Linked DNA regions of Homo sapiens: all the other regions are linked to region 2. Evidence: promoter capture Hi-C in 16 types of primary human blood cells and fetal thymus (Javierre and others, 2016). All regions are on one chromosome and are shown on one strand. The core of a region is centred on a gene start or on the middle of the fragment in contact, and the rest is flanking DNA. Distances in the headings are between cores, read along the strand shown. Region 1 has its middle 300 kb from the start of MCPH1-DT. Region 2 holds the start of DEFA5 (defensin alpha 5). Region 3 has its middle 280 kb from the start of MCPH1-DT.

Region 1 (2,700 bases), core at 189-2,688, 950 kb before region 2:
GTACTGTGGTACTTTAATGACAGCAAGTCCTCCAGCCCAGTAAACTCCTACACTGAAATGAAATGGATAAGGGACAATCCTTTTTTATACTGGAACTTGAAAGTATAAAGGATATTCTATCAATTATAAAACTTTTTTCTATGAAAAAAATACTTTTAGATTCTGTAAGGTTTTTTCCCTAAATGTTTTAGTCTTGTTTCTCTTACACCCCTTTGCCTTTATTTCTAAGGCCTTGATCCACATTGAGTTAATATTTGAAAATAAGAAGTCTCACATGCACACGTATATTTATTGCGGCACTATTCACAATAGCAAAGGCTTGGAACAAATCCAAAAGTCCAACAATGATAGAATGGATTAAGAAAATGTGGCACATATACACCATGGAATACTATGCAGCCATAAAAAATGATGAGTTCATGTCCTTTGTAGGGACATGGATGAAATTGGAAATCATTCTCCGTAAACTATCGCAAGGACAAAAAACCAAACACCGCATGTTTTCACTCATAGGTGGGAATTGAACAATGAGAACACATAGACACAGGAAGGGGAACATCACACTCTGGAGACTGTTGTGGGTGGAGGGAGTGGGGAGGGATAGCATTAGGAGATATACCTAATGCTAAATGACGAGTTAATGGGTGCAGCACACCAGCATGGCACATGTATACATATGTAACTAACCTCTGCACATTGTGTACATGTACCCTAAAGCTTAAAGTATAATAATAATAAAAGAAAAGAAAAGAAAAGAAGAAAATAAGAAGTCTCATAAAGGAACTATATTGTACTTACGAAAAAGCTGCTTGTTTTCAGTGCTGTGCTCATAATAACTCTTTCCTCTCAGTAAGCCCTGTCCTTCAGGGCTCATTCATCTCTACCTTTCCACACCCCACTCGCTTTATGTCAACGTTTGAACTCTGCTTCCTCACAGAGCCTGCCAGTGGGCAGGACATGGAATGGGCCCGTGACTCTAGGCCTCCCCACAAGCTGAGTTTTGGGTTCTCAGAGTCTTCCCAGTTCTTAGAGACAAATCTCCCCAAACACTGTTGTTCTGTCTGACTACAAATGTCCCTGCTACAATTTCCGTTTCTATCCTTTGAGCTGACCCCCAGTCCTGACTTGGTCACATTAGACTGCACTACTGCCCTCCCATTCCACCCTCCTGCTTTGGAGGAAAGTTAAGTAGTTCTGCAGCCAGATCACTTTTTTCTTGCATAAATGTAGCCAGTCCTTTTTTCTCCCAACTAGCCACTGCTGATGAGTTCCCATTTTGCCTCAGAGCATAAACCATTACTATTGAGACCTTGGATAGCACTAGGGAAATACTAACCACATTCAGATACCTAGGTTAGCCACACTTGGATTATATTTACCAAACAGCTCCTTTTTTCCCTAGGCATACAGTTGAACAACATTTTCAAACCTCCCTTTTAGTTAGTTGTTGCCACACGCTTGAGTAATAGCCAAAGAAAAATGAATAAAAAGATGTGTACCACTCCTTCAATCCTCACGCTAATTCTTTTCCACATAATGCACACAAGCACGGTGACTTGGAAGCCACATTTGTGAAGATGGCAGGATCACAGACAGAAGGAGCCTGGGTCCCTGGGTCACTGTTTGGAGGAGAGTCACCTTCCCATCGGAACACCTGATGAAAGTTGTATGTGAACAAGAAATGAACTCTGTTGTGCTTGAGTCATGATACCTTTTGGGGTTTTTGTTGTTGTTGTTGTTGTTACAGCATTATTTTGACAAATCTACAACCTCCTAGGGCTATTCTGAGGGTGAAATGAGTGAATGCATGTATCCTGCTTAGAGGGGAGCTTAGTAAATAGCATGCGAACTCCTAGGAAATGTTTGCTATTATTATTACCAAAAGTTAAAGAGATGTGGAGGTTCTCAGTCTAAGCAAATAAATATAGTTGATTAGGCAAGTGTTAAATATGACCTCAATGTATCTCATTTGTATGTTTTTTTTAGATAATCAAGTTTCCCATTAAGAAAGCCACAGATGAAGGGCATCAAGTATCATTCATTCAACAATCAGCCAAATTGGACTGAGCACAAACTCTACACCAAACCTTAGGATTCATCTATAAAACAGCTTTGCTACTTGAAGTGTGGTTCTCAGACAAGCAGCATCAGCATCACCTGGAAGCTTATTAAAAACTACAGACTCTCAGACCCCCTCCTAGACCCACAGACTCAGAAGACGCATTTTGACAAGTTCCCTAGGTAGCTCATATGCACGCTGAAGCTTCAGAAGCTTTCTAAAAACGGATACCGTCCCAGACATCAGAGTACTGTCCATCCGTGAAAAGGAAGACGAGAAAGTAATTAACCCTGGCAGGGAAAATCAGGAAAGACTTTACAGCTGAAAAGTTTTGTTTTTTAATTTGGATCTTGAAGGATAAATCAAAGTTTACCAGATGGAAAAATAAATGCAGGCAACTTTGATAAAGAAGCTAGAGTGTAAAATGACACAGCCATGAAGGACTGTGATCTTTTCCTGTGGGGTTGCAAAGACAGTCTGTGGGCTGACTGTGAGGGCAGAACCAGAAAACATCTTCAAATTTACGTACACAAGGAGCTTGGATCCAGACCCCAAATTCGGAACACTTTGCAACCTGCTCTCCTGCACACCAGACACTAAGCTTGGAACAGGAGCCTTATCCTGTTCATAAAATTGAACGG
Region 2 (2,700 bases), core at 118-2,617:
TTTCTTTTTTCAGGACCTTGAACTGAATCTTGCACTGCTTTGGTTTCTATCTAGGAAGCTCAGCGACAGCAGAGTCTGTAGAGGCGGCCACTGATTTCACACACCCCGGAGAGGGACTCACGGGTAGCACAACGGCCGGTTCGGCAATAGCAGGTGGCTCTTGCCTGAGAACCTGTGGAAAGAAGAGAGGGTCAGGCACAGCGAGGGAGGTGGGAAAAAGGACAAGCACAGCCAGACTAACTGAGATAGTCTAAATAAGAGACACTGTATCAGTCATGTTAGGATGGAGAAAATTCATGTCTTTGTCGTAAGTGACAAGAAATCTTACTAGCTATGTGTTAGTCATGCAAGATCATAGTTTTTTTCCCCATGTGAGTCTATCCAGGATGTATTTATTACCTGCTCCCTGGTCCAACAATATACCTCTCAACCTCAGGGTTACCTACTCTTCATTCTGCTTCATCCACACGCCTAATCTTGACCTCCATGTGTGATTTCCAGGTCCTAACAAGGCTCCCTAAAGCACCTGAATCAGTTTCTGAAATGCCGCATTGTGCATGCTAATGTCATGGACCAAATACTTTGGTGCTCAAGGAGTCTTTGAAGACTTTCCAAATTCAAATTCTTCATTCTCTGTCTCTCCTTTTTTTTTTTTTTTTTTTTTTTTTAACATTTTACATATTTACTTGTTTTAATTGACAAACAATAATTGTGTATATGTATGAGACACAATATGATGTTTTGATCTAAGGATGTATTGTAGAAAGATTTAATCAAGCCTATTAGCCTACATCAAAACACACCTATAGGTTCCTCTCTAGGTTCTAAAAGCTTTTCCAATGGACAAAGTAAAACACTCTCTATATAACTAAGTCTGCCCATTTAGATCTACAAAGAACTAGTCAGTGTAGCTCTTTCTATCTTAAAAGTAGCAAATTTCACAGAAATATCTTGGAACTGAAAGTCTTAGAAAAAAGAAAATCTTTTAGATTTATTTGGTTCTCACTGATTAATTTATAGATGAGAAAATCAAGGTCCAGGAAGATTAAGTAAAGTCACTCAAGTGAGGTAGACCTTTCCACACTTGACTCCAGATCCTTTCTCCAATCCTTTTTTTCTAGATTTTGCAGATGTGCAAGATTGATGTCTCCTACCTGAGGTTCTAAGAGCAGAGAGTCCATTTCCTGCAAAGGAGATAGCAAGGTCCTGGTTGTCTTCCCCAGACTGCTTCTGGGTTGTAGCCTCATCAGCTCTTTCCTGGAGTGACTCAGCCTGGGCCTGCAGGGCCACCAGGAGAATGGCAGCAAGGATGGCGATGGTCCTCATGGCTGGGGTCACCTGCAGGAGGGAGAGCAGGAGTGGATATGTGGGGAGTGAGGAGTCAGCCTGGATTTATAGCTCTGCTGGGAGAAGACCTGAGACAGAAGCTGCAGTGAGAGGAGGTGGGCATGTGATTGGGAGGGGAAGGACTGCCTTTGTTCTCAAGATCCCTTTGATGCTCCTCTTTCTCCCAGCTTTCATCAAAGCGTGAGTCTGTATGCTTAATGCCTCTTCTTGATCCAAGGTGTTAATGATGATAAGGGTATTACTATCCTGTTCTGTTTCCCATCTGCTTGAGTATTTACTTTTATATATTCAAAAAAGAAAAACAACAGCGCTTTCATTCAAGAAGTTTGGGGATCAAATGCCTCTTGTTTTCTGAAGATGGTCCCTGGTACTCTCTGGATGACTCTCTGGGGGCAGACCTGGGACTCAGTGGAGTAGAGAGTTAATTCATTGCAGGATTCAGGGATATTACTAACCTCATGTAGGAGGCTTTTGAGATCTCGAGGTGAGTAGTCTCCCGCTGGTGCCAGTATGGAGAGGTCAATGACCTTATCAGGCTATAGGGGAAATGAGTTCAGTAAAATAGTAGGCCAAGTTTATCAGATTAAAATAAAAATTCGGATTTAGTTCAAGGAGTTGGTGTGATCTGAATGCATCACATAAAATGTGTAGCGGGTACTTCTCTCCACTTTGGGGAATATCAAAGTAATTTAGGTGCGTACAGCCCCTTTCTGAGATTTTTTTTTTAGTTTTAGAAAATTGTAAATCATGCACAAGGAACAACATTCAAAAGGTAGAAGTCATGAGCTCTCATTTCTACCCCCAGGCCTTCAGTTCTGACCCAGCAAACCATCACTATTAACAGTTACACATAGTATTCTGCACTTCGCTTTTTTCACCTGTAACATTGGCACTTTGTATATCAAAATACATGGAATGCTATTATAATTTTAATAGCCTTATACTATCCCAGGGTTTGTATATGCCATCACTTATTTTTTGTACTGATAAAATATTATAAAATTATTACAATTTGGTTATTTTTAAACTTTTGCAGTAATAAGTAAAGTTACAGTGATTATCTTGTATATATGTTCTCTTACCTATATGGATAAACTTATAGAAATAGAATTGCTGTGTCAAAGAATGCATCTTAAGCCAGCATGGTGGTACATGCCTATATTTCTAGCTATTTGAGAGGCTGAGGTGGGAGGATCACTGGAGACCAGGAGTTCGATACCAGCCTAAAAACATAGTGAGACCCCTTTCTCTTAAAAAAAAAAAAAGAGACTATATCTTACACATTTTTAAGATATTACTACATATTTCCATAATATCACCATATTTGATCCAAATCCTTTGGGGCTCAGTGGG
Region 3 (2,764 bases), core at 212-2,711, 930 kb before region 2:
TTCTACAGAACCATAGAACTACTGAATCTTCTACAAAAGGTCTTTGTCATCTCTTAAAATTTTCTTGGCTTTTCATTGCTCGAGACTAAGTCTTAGAAAGAGCAAAACAGTCTACTCCACAACTAACTGACAGGTACAAAGGAAGACTCATGACATCCCCAACTACAACAGCGAGAGCATGAAAAGCCTTTCCTTGTGCTCACCTTTCTCTTCTCTATCCAAGGTCCTGAAATGGCCAGCCAGCCACTGAGGCATCTTCACTTTTCTCCTGAAACCGTGACCAGTACTCATAACCCCCTAACAATTCACCCTTAAACTCAGCCCTTAGACTAACCCAACAGTCCCCCAGTGTGGTTTGGGAACCCATGGGGAATCCCAAAATTTCAAGCAGTCTGCAAAGACAAACCTATTTTCACAATATTACTAAGATGCCATTTTCCTTTTCACTGTTAATCTCTCACAAATATGCAATGGAGTCTTCCAGAGCCTACCGGACACAGAATGTTAACAAAAGTTTGAATGCAGAAGCGGATATAAAAATCCAGCTGGTTTCCATGAAGCCAGATGTTAAACAGAGTTGCAAAAAATTTAAAACAAGCTACTGTCCTTACCCCACTTGTTTTTGTTTTAGAAAACAGTTATTTCCGTAAAAATGTACTTTTATATTAACATGTAATGGGCTTATTATTTTTAAATGAATAATCTGTTTTATAATTTTTAATTAAATAAGTCTTAATTTTTGCAATAAATTCCAACAGATACGACCCACTTAAACAAAATCTCATTGAGATCCTGAATACATTTTAAGAGTGTAAAGGTGTTCTGAGACCAAAACATTTAAGAAGTGCTGGACTAGAATATATCACAGCCTCACTCTGCTACTTCCTTTGCTCTGCCAACAAATAAGAAGGGCCTGAGCTCATGATGTGGCCACAGGAAATCCAATGTTGTCTGTGTCTAAACACTGAATGGTTGGGAAAGGTCAGAGGCTAGGCTGACTCATGCTCCTTCTATCATTCGGGGTTTGATGGAAGAAACAGAACCACTATGGGGGGATTTTGACTGAGGATTTGTCATAGAGATTGGAGCTCAAGCAACCATAAGAGCTCATTAAACAGCCTGTGTGAGGAGGCTACCTTTTTCTGTCTGGGGCAGGAGCCTAAAGTCATCAGGACAGGCTGGCAGAAAGGAGAAGTGGACATAAAGTTGAGGAGCAAGGACACACTGAGAAATTCAGGACAAGCTGGAGCCCCGGAGAACGACGGGAACCTGCTTGAGCCTTCAACAGAGGAGGCCAGTGGCCTGCCGCAGAAGCTGCTCCTTCCTCGTGGAACTAAAAAAGCACCTGGTACAGGAGGCAAAGGCCCTGGAGGAGGAGATGCTCAGGACCAGAGTGGCTGCTGTCCCATCCCAAGGTGAGCCAGGAGCTGAGCACCATGGGCTTGGGCTGCAACAGAGCTTCATGCCCTTCACAGATCCTTCCATGTAAAAGTATAAGACCCAGACTTCACTTTTACCTCCAAATCTCATGAGAAACCTTTCTTGTGACCCATCCAAACTCGTAATTGTACGGAGAAGAAAACTGTGGAATGTATTGACCAATTCACTCACTACTGCTGATTGACACAGGAGTCCTTCAACTCAGCGTCCAGATGTGCAAGGCTTCAGGAGTGCTCAGTGTTCAACAATCAAGTGAAATTCATCTTGGACTCTTCATCATTTTCTGTTCCTTTTAAAGCATCTGATACCTCCTCTTCCAGCATTTCTCACCATAGCCAATCTAATGCATTTTTTTTTAAAAAAGCTATCCAATGTGAGCACCCCAATATCGCCTATATTATCTCCCAGTTCCACCATTTATCCAACCTCCTTACCTTCCTGTCTGGCATATTTTAGAATCTTAGTAAATATTATTAGCCATGGTGGCAGGCACCTGTAGTCCCACCTACTCAGGAGGCTGAGGCAGGAGAATCAATTGAACACTTTTACCTCCAAATCTCAGGAGTTGGAGGCCACAGTGCACTATGAAGGAACCTATGAAGAGCCACTGCACTCCAGCCTGAGGAGCAAAGAAAGACCCCATCTCTAAATAAATAAATAAATGTATTGATTTAGTCAAATAACCAATCAATGACAGAGTGATTATCCGGATTCTCAGTGGCACCAATCCCTCAACCCAAGTCAGTTCTTCTTCTCACCTTCATTAAATGTTTCAACACCTCTTTTATTTCTTTAAAAATATTAAACATAATCATTTATATTATCTTCAATAAGTGCATTATCTGAAGTCCAATGCGTCTGATTCTGCTGTCTGTTTTTTCTGCTGTCACTTACAGTGGCCTTTTTTTTTTTTTTTTTTTTTTTTTGTGAGACGGAGTCTCACTCTGTCACCAGGCTGGAGTCCAATGGCACGATCTCGGCTCGCTGCAACCTCTGCCTCCCAGATTCAAGTGATTCTCCTGCCTCAGCCTCCTGAGTAGCTGAGACTATAGGTGCGCACTATCACGCCCAGCTAATTTTTGTATTTTTACAAATACAAAAATTTTACCACAGCGTTTCACCATGTTGGCCAAGATGGTCTCAATTTCTTGACCTCGTGATCTGCCTGCCTTGGCCTCCCAAAATGCTGAGATTACAGGTATGAGCCACCATGCCCAACCAGTAGCCTGCATTTTTTTTTTTAAGAAAAATGTTACCATGACCTCATGTGTCTTGCCAATTTATCTTTGGGAATTCATTGAGGCCAGAGTTGGAAATAGGCTCT

What was found. The method cuts DNA at HindIII sites, captures the fragments that hold promoters and counts their contacts. A CHiCAGO score of 5 or more calls a contact.
Region 1: a fragment that was not itself captured here is called in contact with the fragment with the promoter of DEFA5 in region 2 in 1 of 17 cell types (fetal thymus); the score reaches 8.7 in fetal thymus.
Region 3: a fragment that was not itself captured here is called in contact with the fragment with the promoter of DEFA5 in region 2 in 1 of 17 cell types (fetal thymus); the score reaches 7.3 in fetal thymus.

Annotation. Positions count from the first base shown.
Region 1 is chr8:6,106,642-6,109,341 of GRCh38, forward strand. No RefSeq gene overlaps it. Among named protein-coding and RNA genes, the nearest start is that of MCPH1-DT, 300 kb to the right of the region's middle. The HindIII fragment of the contact is 1,447 bases long and covers 716-2,162 here.
Region 2 is chr8:7,055,372-7,058,071 of GRCh38, forward strand. It overlaps DEFA5 (defensin alpha 5), which reads right to left and starts at 1,368. Exons shown (of 2, transcript NM_021010.3): 1 at 1,155-1,368; 2 at 1-172. The coding sequence starts at 1,326. The coding sequence ends at 60. The HindIII fragment of the contact is 6,427 bases long and covers 830-2,700 here.
Region 3 is chr8:6,124,474-6,127,237 of GRCh38, forward strand. No RefSeq gene overlaps it. Among named protein-coding and RNA genes, the nearest start is that of MCPH1-DT, 280 kb to the right of the region's middle. The HindIII fragment of the contact is 4,497 bases long and covers 1-2,764 here.